Regions from separate parts of the Homo sapiens genome. Here region 1 is linked to region 2. Evidence: promoter capture Hi-C in 16 types of primary human blood cells and fetal thymus (Javierre and others, 2016). All regions are on one chromosome and are shown on one strand. Each heading gives the region's core, a stretch centred on a gene start or on the middle of the fragment in contact. The rest is flanking DNA. Distances are from core to core; before and after follow the strand shown. Region 1 has its middle 13 kb from the start of LINC01315. Region 2 holds the start of NDUFA6 (NADH:ubiquinone oxidoreductase subunit A6).

Region 1 (2,758 bases), core at 217-2,716, 270 kb before region 2:
TGTCCGCTGGGCTGGGCCGTGGCCAGCTCCTTGAGTAACTGGGAGGGCTACAGTGAGTTACTGGAGAGCAGGGCTCTAGCCCCCACCGATACTGGCCCCAGGAGGGGCAGGGCTCACTCAGAAACCTTGCTGCTCTCATTGCAACACCACCTAGCTAAGCGCAGAGCCTCCCTGCCCTGCAGAGCCTGCTGGCTCCCTAGCTAGGAAACGGCACCATGCCAGGACAGAACGGGATCTGTCCCGAGGCTCCTGTCCGTTGGTATTTGCCAGGCACCTACTCTGTGCCAGGGACTTTCCTTAATCATTCTTCAGGTACAGTCTCATTCACAGGAGAGAAAGCCAAGGTTCAGGGAGTGGAAGCAACTTGGCCAGAGTGATATGAGGGCCAGGGGCTCTAACCCAGGGCTGTGGGACTCTGAAGTCAGTAAGTCATTCTCTATCTAAATCTTGCCATCCCCCAGGCAGGCCAGGGGAAGGAGCACTGGCTTTGGAGCCCTGGAGTGTGAGAGGTGGACCCCAGGCTGGGCAGGAAGACAGACCCAGGCACAGTCCTGAGTCTGCCCTCACATGTTGCCACATTCTGTTCCCCCTGCTCACCATGCTCTTCCTGGCAGACTCAACCCTCGGTCTCGCCAGGTGTGAGTCGCTCTCTCTCTCTGTGAGGCAGGGCACTGCATGGGGAAAGGCACATGTCTGGGAGTCCCATAGGCCTGTTTTCAAATCCTGCTCTGTCACCCACTACTGAGCCTAGAGCACAGGATAAAAAGGGGAACAGCATGCAAACAGGGAACAGCATAGGCAAAGGCCAGAGGATAAGAGGGCCTTCGAGAACCACAGCGGCGATGAGCGGAGCTAGGATCCAGGCAGGGGGGCGGACGTGGGTTGAGCTTCCTGTCCCCTGCTCTGGGCCTCTGTCCAGGCTGTCATCCCTGCCTGGCCCACCCTTCCTCTTCTCCTGTCCAAGCCTTCATGCCTCTAAGTCCCTGCTCACTAACGTCCCCTGTGAGTCCCTTCCTGAACTCCCCTTAAGCTTCTCCTTCCTCAGTGCTCCCACAGCCCCAAGTGCTACCTTGATTTGAGCAGTTAATGACCTGGGTTGTGCAGGTTTCTGTCCTGCATGAGTGTGGGAGTGAGATCTTTGTTTCAGATCCTGGCTCTGGACCTTGTCCACTGGATGACCCTGAACAAGTTCCTTCACCTCTCTGTTTCTTCATCAGCAAGATGATGGTAGCAGCCCCCAATGCGTAGTATTCTCTCGGGGATTCAATGACTTTGTGCTTATAAAGCGGCAAACCACACGGCCTCGGAAAGGCAGGCAGCTGGGACACACACATTCATGCATGTCGTTATTATAACTATAATGTGCGAGTCCCTTGAGGGCAAGGCCTCCTGTCTGGTTCCCAGCTCATAGTAAGGCTGGATCAGGGCTCAGGGAGCACTGAGTGATTCTAGAATGAAAGGACAGCCCATTCTAGCAACAAACTAAACAGTGATCATTTATTGAGTGTGCACTGCATCTTGTTTTGTTTTGTTTTGTTTTTTGAGTCGGAGTCTCGCTCTGTCGCCCAGGCTGGAGTGCAGTGGCGCAATTTCGGCTCACTGCAACCTCTGCCTCCCAAGTTCAAGCGATTCTCCTGCCTCAGCCTCCCGAGTAGCTGGGACTACAGCCACGTGCCACCATACCTGGCTAATTTTTGTATTTTTAGTAGAAACGGGGTTTCACCATGTTGGCCAGGCTGGTCTCGAACTCCTGACCTCAGATGATCTGCACGCCTTGGCCTCCCAAAGTGCTGGGATTACAGGAGTGAGGCCCTGCGCTCAACCTGCATCTTGTTTTATTCTGACCACCCTGTAACATGGGAATTATTAGGTCCATTTTGCAGATAATATAATTGAAGCTTAGCAAGACTAGGCCGCCTGCCTAAACTGCAGTGAGTACTTGAGCAGTTGGGTTTTGCACCTGGATCAGGCTGACTTTGCTGTTCCATACACTGGTTAAGATCCTGTTCTGTGATGCCCCTTGTTGAATGGTCCAGAAACCCCCTTCTCTCCCTCCTGGGTGCCCTTCCTATCTCCAGGCTACCCCTTGGAGTTGCTGGGGTGAGGGGTGTGGATTTGGGGACCCCATGGTGATCTGTCACTTCATGAGTCCTGTGCCCTATAATACATACATGTACATGCAGGTGCGCACACACATGCACACATGCACACACCTACAACACCTACACACACACACACTCACAACCTCTGCGGCTGACAAGTTCCTCCAGGTCTCTAGGCCTCCAGGTCCTCCACATCCAGGGCCCCGCATGAAGTCCCTGTGCAGTGCTGCAGTGGGGCTGCCTTTGGCCTCAGTCTCCCAGCTGTCAGCCTCCAGGGGGTGGGATGGGGCTTGAGGACTCCCCATGCCCACACAGTGTCCTGGCCAGCCAGCACGCCCGATCCAACTTCATCAGGCAGGGGCATGGGGTGGGGAGAGTAGGGGACGACTTGGGCAACCCATGTGACTTCTCAGCTCCTTTCCTCATTTGTGCAATGGCCCCCATGACCCTGTTGTGCCCACTCTGTCTACCTGGCCAGGCTGGACCTGAGGCTCAAGTAGGAAATGAGTATGGAGAAGTAAAGGGGGGAAGAAAGGCAAAGTGGTGGTCCGGTGCCTGGACTCCTCTGACGCTAGGAGTGGCGGCCAGAGGAGTCCAGGCACTGGGGTGCACCCGGGCCTGCTGGAGAAGGTGCTGTGTAATGGTTCTGAACCCAG
Region 2 (2,700 bases), core at 1-2,500:
CAGTGGCTACTAAGGACATCTAAGGACACTTTATACAAACCTTAACTGTGTTACAACTTCTTAAGTCAGTACTGAGGTTCAAAAGCTTCCATTTTATTATTATGCTTTATAATTTATATATGTTACGTGCTTTCTTTTGTATAGCTCACTTGAATATATATATACATTTTAGAAGATAATAAGGAAGAAAAAAAGTATATCTGGTTTTTTAACCCTTCGAAATGGGAAAGTTTGGAGTAGATGCTCAGCCCCGGCCCCTGGCCCTTCCCCAATACTCACAGGCTCCTGTCAACTACACCTTCAGAAAAAGACGGAGCCTCTTAGGCAGCAGTCAGGCAGGTGGGGGCGATCTGTCAGGTGACCTAGACTCTGGGCCATCTCAGTTTCCTCACCTGTAAAATGGGGATGCTGAGGTACCTACCTGACCTATGAGAGCGGAGAACACTGAGATATCTTGCCCATGGCCTGCCCTGTGGTTAGCTGTCGTTTTTTCCTTGACACTTGTAGGCTCCTCTTCATGTTTACATAACCTCAGTGGGAAAACGCCAGCGAAGAGAGACACTCAGAATGGACGATCTAAAGTTCCTTCCAGCTTCCAAATTCTGGGCTGGTTTTCAGAGATCCAGGGCTCGGGATGCGAATGTCCCTGTCTACGATGGGGCTGCCGTTACAGCCTTCCTCCCGGGGCTCTGGAGACGCGCCAGCTCTTTGACACCTCTCCTGCGCTAAGGAAGAGTTGGTTTACAGAAAAGTAAGTATATCCTGGCCCTGCAGAAAGCCGCCAGGCGGCAGGACAAGCCCCACCGCAGCCCAGGCGCCATTATCTGCCTCAGCAGTTACCTCGGGGTCCCGCCACGAGGAGGTTCTTCAAGGCCTGCGCGCCCACGGACACTACCAAGGAGCGCGGCGGGCAGCCGGATAGCAGGACGCTGAGGGAAACCCCGCAGTCGCTCGGCGTCCCCGGCGCCAGCTCACGACCCAGCGACCTCCTGCGGCCCGAGCGTCCCCTGGCGGCAACGCCGGCTCGTTAGAGCGAGCGACAGATGGTGTAGTCCAAAGGCCAAGCGGCGTTTCTGTAGATGAGCATGCGCAGCACCCACCGTTCGCTCAGCCAGAGAGAGGCTTCCCAGCCAATCCGAGAGCCTCAGAGTCATCCTCCCGCCCACCCAGCATACAGGCGGGGCGTTCCTCCTTAGCCAATGGGAAAAGACATTCGCCCGCGGTCCGCACGCGCTGCTTGCAAAGGGGTGGGGTTGTGGAGTGGATGCTTTGGCAAGATGGCGGGGAGCGGCGTCCGCCAAGCTACTTCTACCGCCAGCACCTTCGTGAAGCCCATTTTCAGTCGGGACATGAACGAGGCCAAGCGGAGGGTGCGCGAGCTCTACCGCGCCTGGTATCGGGAGGTGCCGAACACTGGTGAGAGGTAGCGGCTTACGTGGGGACCCGGAGGCCGCCGCTCAAGGTCGTAGCCGGCCCGGCCGGGGTTTCTCATGGGCCCAGCTGAGGTCACCAACTTGGGCAGAGGCGACTGCGGGTGCTTCAGGGGAAGAGGGTCACCCGAGCCTACCATGGGCCGGACCTGGCGGCGGCGCGGTGGTCAGACCGGCCGTGCCTAGCATTCGTACGTGCTATCGGAGCTTTGGTCTCTTTTGTCCTTCGCAATTGGCGGGAGGACGATGACTGTCAGTGACACACTCACTTTGTGGGTGAGGCAGCGGAGGCACCGAGAGGTGAAGTGATGTGCCCAGGGCCCAGGCCGAGCCACTGTTGTACCCAGAACCCAAAGTCTAGAGTTGCAGAGTGTAATTATAGATGCCCGTTGGATTTTTTTGTTTGTGACAGAGTCTCGCTGTGTCGCTCAGGCTGGAGTGCAGTGGTGCGATCTCGGCTCACTGCAAGCTCCGCCTCCCGGATTCACGTCATTCTCCTGCCTCAGCCTCAGCCTCCCGAATAGCTGGGATTACAGGCGCCCGCCACCACGCCGGCCATTTTTTTTTGTATTTTTAGTAGAGACGGGATTTCACCGTGTTAGCCAGAATGGTCTCGATCTCCTGACCTCGTGATCCGCCCGTCTCGGCCTCCCAAAGTGCGAGAAAGAGGTGTTTTTGAGTGAGCTGGAGCACGGTGCCACTCCTCAGGGCTGTCGAGTCCCTGCTTGTGTGTGTGAAAAGGCGGTAGAATGTGGTGGTTAGGAGCACGGACTTTTCTTCAGGCGCTGCCCTCAACTAGCTGTGTGACCTTGGGCCAGTTATTTCATCTATTCCTCAGTTTCTTCATCTTTAAAATGGGAATAATAATTCCTTCTTCAGAAGGTTACTGTATTAAGTTAAAATATCTAGAGTGCTTAGAACAGGACTTGATGCATATTTAACTCATTAAATATTAGCTGCTGCCGTTGTTTTTGTTGTTATTTTTGTTATTTATAGGGCTTTCCTTAGCAGCAGCTTCCAAGCAGAACCCGGTTCTTTGACATATGAGAACTGTGTCTGCTCCACAGAGTCCCTGTCTTCAAGCTGACTTTTGGAAAAATTGCTACTGACCAGAACTTAAACCCACGCGATACTAGAGAAGGAGAAACTTGAGTGATCTGCTGGTTCAGGGACTGCAAATTCAGATGCCTTCAGGGGCAGGCAGATAAAAGATGTGTGTGGGGAGTGACTGTAGCAGTGTGTGTGTGTGTGTGTGTGTGTGTGTTTCGGG

What was found. The method cuts DNA at HindIII sites, captures the fragments that hold promoters and counts their contacts. A CHiCAGO score of 5 or more calls a contact.
Region 1: a contact is called between a fragment that was not itself captured here and the fragment with the promoter of NDUFA6 in region 2, in 1 of 17 cell types (activated CD4 T cells). The highest score is 5.3, in activated CD4 T cells.

Annotation. Positions count from the first base shown.
Region 1 is chr22:42,355,286-42,358,043 of GRCh38, reverse strand. No RefSeq gene overlaps it. Among named protein-coding and RNA genes, the nearest start is that of LINC01315, 13 kb to the left of the region's middle. RefSeq lists an enhancer at 1,240-1,319. The HindIII fragment of the contact is 868 bases long and covers 1,033-1,900 here.
Region 2 is chr22:42,089,322-42,092,021 of GRCh38, reverse strand. It overlaps NDUFA6 (NADH:ubiquinone oxidoreductase subunit A6), which reads left to right and starts at 1,250. Exons shown (of 3, transcript NM_002490.6): 1 at 1,250-1,416. The coding sequence starts at 1,278. It overlaps NDUFA6-DT (NDUFA6 divergent transcript), which reads right to left and starts at 1,089. Exons shown (of 5, transcript NR_034118.2): 1 at 841-1,089; 2 at 422-725. The HindIII fragment of the contact is 8,372 bases long and covers 88-2,700 here.